Regions from separate parts of the Homo sapiens genome. Here region 2 is linked to region 1. Evidence: promoter capture Hi-C in 16 types of primary human blood cells and fetal thymus (Javierre and others, 2016). All regions are on one chromosome and are shown on one strand. Each heading gives the region's core, a stretch centred on a gene start or on the middle of the fragment in contact. The rest is flanking DNA. Distances are from core to core; before and after follow the strand shown. Region 1 holds the start of ZNF699 (zinc finger protein 699). Region 2 overlaps ZNF136 (zinc finger protein 136).

Evidence for each region. The method cuts DNA at HindIII sites, captures the fragments that hold promoters and counts their contacts. A CHiCAGO score of 5 or more calls a contact.
Region 2: a fragment that was not itself captured here is called in contact with the fragment with the promoter of ZNF699 in region 1 in 1 of 17 cell types (monocytes); the score reaches 6.6 in monocytes.

The regions. Positions count from the first base shown.
Region 1 is chr19:9,307,530-9,312,359 of GRCh38, forward strand. It overlaps ZNF699 (zinc finger protein 699), which reads right to left and starts at 2,309. Exons shown (of 6, transcript NM_198535.3): 1 at 1,821-2,309. RefSeq lists silencers at 1,979-2,228, 4,584-4,830 and an enhancer at 2,289-2,408. The HindIII fragment of the contact is 15,955 bases long and covers 1-4,830 here.
Region 2 is chr19:12,184,373-12,189,202 of GRCh38, forward strand. It overlaps ZNF136 (zinc finger protein 136), which reads left to right. Exons shown (of 4, transcript NM_003437.5): 2 at 1,413-1,539; 3 at 1,742-1,802; 4 at 2,198-4,830. The coding sequence ends at 3,629. Among named protein-coding and RNA genes, the nearest start is that of ZNF136, 24 kb to the left of the region's middle. The HindIII fragment of the contact is 722 bases long and covers 1,893-2,614 here.

The DNA.
Region 1 (4,830 bases), core at 1,059-3,558:
AGGACAGGTAATGTGGCAGGGTAGAAGCAGAAAATTAAAATAACTATTTCAGATCATGCTGGAATTTCAGAGGGTTTAGTATATCTATTATATATTTATAAGCATTATCAACTCCTAGAGGAAAAAAAATCAGTACTGGCCAGGCACGGTGGCTCACACCTGTAATCCCAGCACTTTGGGAGGCCAAGGTGGGTGGATCACAAGGTCAGGAGTTCAAGACCAGCCTGGCCAAGATGGTGAAACCCACCTCTACTAAAAATACAAAAAAATTAGCTGGGCATGGTGGCAGGTGCCTGTAATCGCCACTACTTGGGAGGCTGAGGCAGAGAATTGTTTGAACCCAGGAGGCAGAGGTTGCAGTGAGCCAAGATCACGCCACTGCACTCCAGCCTGGGAGACACAGCGAGACTCTGTCTCAAAAAAAAAAAAAAAAATCGGTATTAATAGGCTAGACTATTGATATATAAAGTTGAATAAAGACCAGCATAAAAGTTTAGAAAGAAAATAGAAAATAATCTTTTTTAAAACATAGTAAACAAAATCAGAAAAGCTAAAAAAGCATCCTTTGCAAAAAGAAAAACTAATGAAACTGACAAACTCAGCTTTTTAAAAAAATTTTTTAATTTAATTTATTGTTTAAGACAGACTCTTTATGTTCCCAGGTTGATCTCATTTCCTAGGCTCAAGCGATCCATCTGCCTTAGCTTCCCACCAGCTGGGACTACAGATATGCGCCACTGCAGCCAGCAACAGACTCAGCAATTTTAAGAGCAACAGGGCATAAACAACAACAACAAAAAAAAAATGAACAAGAATTAATCATAATTACAGATATCATAAGGAGAATATAGAAAAAATTTAAGGAATAAATATGAAGATGCACAGGTAATTAATGAATTTCTAGAAAGTAGTACAACTTTCAAGCAGTGATCTAAAACCTGATTACACCCAGTAATTAAAGAAAAAAAAATCAGCGGTTTAAAACACGGTCAGGCCGGGTGCAGTGGCTCATGCCTGTAATTCCAGCACTTTGGGAGGCGGAGAGCCCATGAGTTCGAGACCTGCCCGGGCAACAGAGCGAGACTCCTATTTTCTAAAAAGAAATAGGAATAAAGAAAGGAAAAAAACCTACAAACACCTACAGCAAACATCCTATTTAATGGTGAAATGATAGAATAATTCCCTCTGGAATCAGAAACAAGACAGGATGTAAATTACATGCTATTCTGTCGGACATTGTACTGGAGGTCCTGGCAAGTGCAGTAAAGAAATGAAAAGAAATGGAAACTGCAAGGAATAAAAAGGGAAAAGATTGAAACTGACAGATGACCAAATTTTCTGTGTGAAATTTAACCAATCTATAGACAAATGATTCAAATGCATCATTAATGACAAAATGCATCAGTTCACTTTCACTTGAATATAATGTATCAAACTGATGTCCACAGGCAGAATATAATATCCAGAGACCAAATACTATCTTTTTGTTTTTTTGAGACAGTGTCTCGCTCTGTTGCCCAGGCTGGAGTGCAGTGATGCGATCTCAGCTCACTGCAACCTCTGCCTCCCGAGTAGCTGGGAACACAGGAGAGCACCTTTTATTTTACTTTTTTTTTTTTTTTTTTTTTTGGTAGAGACGGGATCTTGCTATGTTGCCCAGGCTGGCCTCAAACTCCTGGGCTCAAGCGATCCGCCCGCCTCGGCCGCCCAAAGTGCTGGGATTACAGGCGTGAACCACCGCGCTTGGCCCAAACACTACCTAATGCATAAAGAGGGGACAGGAGGGGACCGAGCCGAGGCAAATGTCACCCCGTGCTCACCCGACACGCCGCGATCCACAGATCAGCTCACAGAGAACGAGGCTGAAGCGCTTGTCCTTGAGACACGAATGGCAGAGATGCTCTTCCTTTCTGGAAAGAGAGCAAAGGATGCTTTCGGAGGCTGATGAACTACGACATTGGTTCTCCAACTCTCGCCTGCATCAGAATCACCCCGATTTCTGTACCCAGACCAGAGTTCCCGATTCAGTGAGTTTGGGACCAGCCGCGGCCACAGGGGCAGCTGACCCGGGCTCTCTGAGGAGGCGCCGCGGCGGCGGGAGGCCCCGGGCGCGGGGTCCGGACAAGGAGTGGCGGGGAGGCAGCCCTTAGACCGCCGATTCCCAAACCCAGCCCTCGGTCTCCCGCGGACCCGACCCGGGGCAGGCAGGGCGGGGCGGGGCAGGGCAGGACAGGAAGCGGGCGGAGGCAAAAATGTTCCTCAGACGCGGGCGGAGGCGTAGGGTGACAAGGCTGTCGACTCGCGCATGCGCAGAAGCACACTTCTGATTCCTCTTTCGGCGCTGCAAATGGCGTATGGGGCGGGGCCTGGGAAGCGGGACTTGAGGTGAAGGGGGTGGAGCAGGTAGGAGCGGGATGCAAAGGAGCGCCAAGGCTGGTTCCAGCCGCAAGTGGATGAGAAATCCTAGTTTCTTCATGATTTGGAGTAAACAGAGAAGAAACAGAACCCTGAACTGGACTTGCATGACTCGGCCTGAGGGGCGGAACTGGGGCTAGACCTAGGGGCGTGGCCTTTTAAATACTCCAAGGGGCGGGGCTAAAGGTGGAACCAGATTGGGAGCGGGGCTTGGTAGAAATTCCTAGGGGGCGGAGACGAGGGCTGGGCGGGGCTTAAGTGACAAGGCCTAGGGATGGGGCTAAGGCTAGGGCTTCCCATCCAGGTTCTCAGCTACCACGGATACAGGATGCTCATCGATCGGGTTTCTACCTATCCTCCACGTTGCTACAGTCCTGTACACAGGACACATATATTTGCAGCTCTAATAGGAAACAGACTCTCCTTGACACTCACTCAGTCCTTTTGGGCCTTTTAGTTTTCCCTTTCATTGTTGTATTGATAACTTCTCCTGTAGAGGGAAGCCATTGATAATTATTTAAATAGAACCTTTTTCCTGGAAACTTGCTGAATTCTGATAGCTGTCAGTTTATTATTTGAACCATCAAATATAAATATTTTCTCTGCATATTTTCATTGTTTTAATGTGTATAACTCATTTCTTTATGTGAGGCAATGTCTCATTCTATCGCCTAGACTGGAGTGCAGTGGCGCGACCATGGCTCACTGCAGCCTTGACTTCCCCAGCTCAAGTGATGGTCCCATCTCAGCCCCCCAAGTAGCTGAGAATACAGTCGCGTACCACCCCACCCAGCTATTTTCTTTATTTTTTTGTAGAGATGGGATCGCACTATGTTGCTGAAGCTGGTCTCAAACTCCTGAGCTCAAGCTATCCTCTCACCTCAGCCTCCCAGAGTGCTAGGGGTACAGGTGTAAGCCACCACACCCAGAGTCATTTCTTTTTCTTATTGTTTGTTTAGGGCTTCCTCAACTATAAGTCGGAAAGAAATTAAGCATTCTTGTCTTGGTCGGTAATGATTACCAAAGTTCCTCAGTAAGCTGTTTACAACAGGTTGCACCTCTTATCAAGTTAATCTTTTTAAACCAGGTTTATAAAGATATTTTATCAATAATTTTTTATGAACACTATCAAATGTTTATGCAACAATTGAGTTGATAACATAATTTTGCTCCTCTTAGTTTATAATATGATATCCATATAAAATATTTAATTTTAGGCAAGGCGCAGTGGCTCATGCCTGTAATCCCAGCACTTTGGGAGGCCGAGGCCGGTGGATTACCTGAGGTCAGGTGTTCAAGACCAGCCTGGCTACCATGGTGAAACCCCATCTCTACTAAAAATACAAAAAATTAGCTGGGCATGGTGGCGGGTGCCTGTAATCCCAGCTACTCAGGAGGCTGAGGCAAGGAGAATCGCTTGAACCTGGGAGGCAGAGGTTGCAGTGAGCTGAGATCGCGCCATTGCACTCCAGCCTGGGCGACAATAGAAAGACTCCATCTCAAAAATATATATATTCAATTTTATATATCCCCAATGAATCTATACTTTTAGTAAAATGGTTTCTGAGTTTCCTAGTTTGCTTTTAAATGTCTCCCCAAACTCTAAAATATAAAAATACTTCCTAATTTACTTCCAAATTGTACTGCTTTTTAAAACGTATAATTCTTTACTGCTCAGGGAATGTATTTTGGTATAATATGAGGTAGAGATGTGTTATATAAGTGAACCACAGGTGGCCTTTCTGTATTGGTCCCTAGGTTGTTCATTACTTCTTCACTGCGGCTTGAGGTCACCTTCCCAATGCCTGTCCCTGGTGCCCTAGCCAGCTCCCTTTCATCATCTATGTTTTTTAAGTGTAAATCTTTTTCTATTATGAAGCATTATGTTCTCATTGTAGTTTTTTATTTTAAAGGAAAAGTATAAGGAAAAGACAAACAACATTCAGAATCCCAGCAGTGTTTGAATTTTCTGTATTTCCTTTCTGCCTTCTTTGTACGCGTGGGTGGCAAGCCACCCAGGTGCCAAGGCAAGAGACCGAGGGCACAAGCTGTTCCAGTATAATAAAGAAAATATATAGAATAAGAGTAGTTATACTAGAAATAGATTATAGATATGATTGTATATATCATTAATCATTTGTAGCATTACTCTTTATTCCAATATTATAATAATCTTTGTTCTACAATCATAACCTAGGAAAAACCAGGCCATACAGAGATAGGAGCTGAAGGGACATGGTGAGAAGTGACCAGAAGACAAGGGTGAGCCCTCTGTTATGCCTGGACAGAGCCACCAGAGGGCTCCCTGGTCTAGCGGTAATGCCAGCCCCTGGGAAGGAGCCCGTTACCTAGCGGACCTTGGTCTAGCAGTAGCGTCAGTGCCTGGGGAAGGCACCCATTGCTTAGCAGACAGGG
Region 2 (4,830 bases), core at 1,004-3,503, 2.9 Mb after region 1:
ACATGGTGAAACCCTGTCTGTACTAAAAAATACAAAAAATTAGTCAGGCGTGGTGGCAGGTGCCTGTAGTCCCAGCTACTCAGGAGGCTGAGGCAGGAGAATGGCATGAACCCGGGAAGCGGAGCTTGCAGTGAGCCGAGATCACGCCGCTCCAGCCTGGGCAACAGAGAGCCAGACTCCGTCTAAAAAAAAAAAAAAAAAGGTAAAAAATCCTTCATTAGTCTCATTTAGTACTTAATTATATTTGATCTGCAGGATAGGTACAAGCTTGCAAGTATTCTCTCTTAGTATAATAACAGAAGATGGGCTTAATTTTCCCAGTAACCAATTGTGAGAACACATGCGAAATGCTTCCTGGAGTGTTTCTGGGGGCTCATCAGGTGGGCACTATGTGTTGCGCGTGTAACAAATTCCCAAACTCTCAGAAGGTGGGACGCCAGAAATTTTCATATTTTTTCCATAAAGAGTTTAGGCACCGAGCTACTCTTACATAGGTCATTGGGCTCCTTCCCCAAATCCGTTTCCCAGATACCAGGAATGGATGTGATGCAGGACAGGTGCGCCCTAAAATTGGGGCTTATCCCAGGATGGTTTCCAGCTTTGCCCAGGGAAGAATTCAAGGGCAGGCCAGTGGTGTTAGATAACAGTGTTTTATTTAACAGTACTGGTCTTTGTGGATCAGTGCTAACTCATAGGCAGTACACCCAGAGTCAGCAACATATGGTCTCTTGGCAACTATATTTATACCCACTTTCAATTATATGCAAATTAAGTGGTGGGTTATTTAAAACTTTCTAAGGAAGGAATGATAACTTTCAGGTCATTGCCATGGCATTTGTAAGCTGTCATAGCATTGGTGGGAGTGTTTTATGCTAATGAGCAGTGAGAGCATCTAGAGATCGCTGTTCTTGTCGTCTGCTGGTTTTGGCCCCTTTCTTTACTTTATCCTACCTGTGCCAGATCTTGTTTTGGCCAGTAGGGTTGTGATCAGAATACAAGTCCTGTTGGTCTCCTACCTCAGATGAATGTTGTGAGGAGTGAGGAGCCTTTTTTTAAGGGTAAGCAGTCTCAGGACTGCTAATATAAACTCTTTTGCATAGTAGGTGGTAGGACTTCGTTATGACAGGTTCTACAGGTCCACTGTATGAGCAGACATTAGCTGGGACTCAGGCAGCACGTATTACTCCTTGCAACCACCACCAAGAAAGATGATCAGACACTGCTATTGTTCTACCCGATAGTTCCATTCTAGTATGAGAGTTGCTGTGTGGAAGGAAGTGAGTATGATGACCAAACAGTGGAGTAAATGTTTGCAGACCCCTGAAACATGTGAACTTCTTATGAATTGAGTACAGCTCCCCAGCCCTGTCTGTCTCACCCATTCTCCTCTCCACATATGTGGGATGTTTCAGGACTCGGTGGCTTTTGAGGATGTAGATGTGAACTTCACCCAGGAGGAGTGGGCTTTGCTAGATCCTTCCCAGAAGAATCTCTACAGAGATGTGATGTGGGAAACCATGAGGAATCTGGCCTCTATAGGTAAGGATTGTATACTTCCATCACTTAGCAATTAAAGAAGAAGTGCTTCTTGTGCAGTGATGCTGTTCCATGGTTTGCATCATGGAGGGAGAGTACTTGGGGGGCTAAAACAGGCATAGTCACAGGGTATCATGAACCTAGAATCTAATAATTTTTCTATAATTTTGCACTAATTCAGAATTTTTCTGGGTCTCTGTTTTAGGGAAAAAATGGAAGGACCAGAACATTAAAGATCACTACAAACACCGAGGGAGAAATCTAAGGTAATTTGTACTCAGAGAAAGCAAATTCACTTGAAAGTACCTTAGCATGTCATGAAATTTTAAAAACAGGCAAACATAACTGATAAGCCAAGCTTCAAATTGATTTATTTTTTGAATATTTTCCCCAAATACATATTCTTCAGTGTAAACAGATGTTCAGTTTTTATAAAAATGTTCATTTGTCAACAGAATTAAGAAACTATTTAAGAATATCACTGTTTGAGTGATAGTTGCGGTCAAGCCCATTGCAGAGCATTGAATTCATTCATGCTCAAACAAATCAGACTTGGCATCGAGTCTACGCTTTACCTGATAATATTGAAAATGCAAGTTTAATAGCTATTAATATAAAATGATTAACAAATCCTTAGTAATGTCCGTCTCATTTTTTACAGAAGTCATATGTTAGAAAGACTCTATCAAACTAAGGATGGTAGTCAGCGTGGAGGAATTTTTAGCCAGTTTGCAAATCAGAATCTGAGCAAGAAAATCCCTGGAGTGAAACTCTGTGAAAGCATTGTATATGGAGAAGTCAGCATGGGTCAGTCATCCCTTAATAGACACATCAAAGATCACAGTGGACATGAACCAAAGGAATATCAGGAATATGGAGAGAAGCCAGATACACGTAACCAGTGTTGGAAACCCTTCAGTTCTCACCACTCCTTTCGAACACATGAGATAATTCACACTGGAGAGAAACTCTATGATTGTAAGGAATGTGGAAAAACCTTCTTTTCTCTCAAAAGAATTAGAAGACACATCATCACACACAGTGGATATACACCATATAAATGTAAGGTGTGTGGGAAAGCTTTTGATTATCCCAGTAGATTTCGAACACATGAAAGAAGTCACACTGGAGAGAAACCCTATGAATGTCAGGAATGTGGAAAAGCCTTCACTTGTATCACAAGTGTTCGAAGACACATGATAAAGCACACTGGAGATGGACCTTATAAATGTAAGGTATGTGGGAAACCCTTTCATTCTCTGAGTTCATTTCAAGTGCATGAAAGAATTCACACTGGAGAAAAACCCTTTAAATGTAAGCAATGTGGTAAAGCCTTCAGTTGTTCCCCAACCTTACGAATACATGAAAGAACCCATACTGGAGAGAAACCTTATGAATGCAAGCAGTGTGGGAAGGCCTTCAGTTATCTCCCCTCCCTTCGACTACATGAAAGAATTCACACTGGTGAGAAACCCTTCGTATGTAAACAATGTGGTAAAGCCTTTAGATCTGCCAGTACCTTTCAAATACATGAAAGGACTCACACTGGAGAAAAACCTTATGAATGTAAGGAATGTGGGGAAGCATTCAGTTGTATCCCAAGTATGCGAAGACACATGATAAAACATACTGGAGAAGGACCTTATAAATGTAAGGTATGTGGGAAACCCTTTCATTCTCTGAGTCCATTTCGAATACATGAAAGAACTCACACTGGAGAGAAACCTTATGTATGTAAACATTGTGGTAAAGCTTTCGTTTCTTCAACATCAATTCGAATACATGAAAGAACTCATACTGGAGAGAAACCCTATGAGTGTAAGCAATGTGGGAAAGCCTTCAGTTATCTCAACTCCTTTCGAACACATGAAATGATTCACACTGGTGAGAAACCCTTTGAATGTAAGCGATGTGGTAAAGCCTTTAGATCTTCTAGTTCCTTTCGACTACATGAAAGGACTCACACTGGACAGAAACCCTATCATTGCAAGGAATGTGGGAAAGCCTATTCTTGCCGTGCCAGCTTTCAGAGACACATGTTAACACATGCTGAAGATGGACCACCTTATAAATGCATGTGGGAAAGCCTTTAATGCTCTGGGTTCATGTCAGATACATTAAAATACTCACTGAAGAGAAGCCCTATGAATGTAAGTAACGTGGGAAAGCATGAAATTCTGTCAGTGCCTTTTTTAATACATGAAAGAATTCTAGAGAGAAGCCATATACATGTAAGTAACATGGGAAAGCTTTCAATCATTTTAGTTCCTTTCAAATACATGAAAGAACTCATCATGGAGAAAACCAAACAAATGCTTTTTGGAAAGGAACCCATATTTGAGAGAAACCCTGGGTAAAGGGTGTAGGAAAGGTTTTGTCATCACACAACCCTGTCACACATGAATGTGTAGTGGAGAGAACCTTGGTAAATGTAAAGAGTGTGGGAGAGCCTTTAGTCATTTTAGTTCCACTTGAAGCCATGAAAGAACACACAAAAGAGAAAGCTCTTGAATATAAGCAATGTCCACACGTTTTTAGCCAGCCCACATGCTTTCAACAACATGTAAGAATGTACCCTGGATCAAAACACTATAAATGTGAAAACTACAAGGAAGGTTTTCCATTATACTTTTAAAGTCATTTGAGGGCTCTGGCTCTGTGGCTTTGTGGGTTAAAGTACTTGTCTGGCAAACAGGAGATGCTGGATTTCAATCCCAGCAGGGCCTCACTAGTTGAGGTATTGAATTTGAACAGATGTTTTGGCTCTGGCTGGGTGTGGTGGCTCACACCTGTAATCCCAGCACTTTGGGAGGCTGAGGCAGGAGGATCACTTGAGGTCAGGAGTTTGAGACCAGTGTGCAAAACATAGCAAGACCTCATCTCAGAAAAAAAAAAAAAGTCATTTGAAAACTTCTAATACAGCAAAATCCTATAAATGTAAGTACTTCAAAAAGCCTCATGCATAGCGGGTCATGTAGTCTCTAGAAAATACATAACCTGATGGAAATGTAGAAGCTATATGTATATTTTGTTAATTAGTGGCTCATATTTAAAATAGTTCTCTGACTATGGATTTCAAATGCTTAATCTCACAAAGAAATGTTAAATTGATATAATCCTGTAAGTAATCTGAAAGCAATAGTGCATGAATTTCATAGGTAGTGTTGTTTTAGGTCAGTAAATAAAATATTTGTCTTTCCATTTTGAAATGTGTTTAATCCAACAATGAATTTAAATGTGTTTCTCATATTCAGGTATGTTAAATTGTATATGGTTGCTTAATTGTTCTGTGAT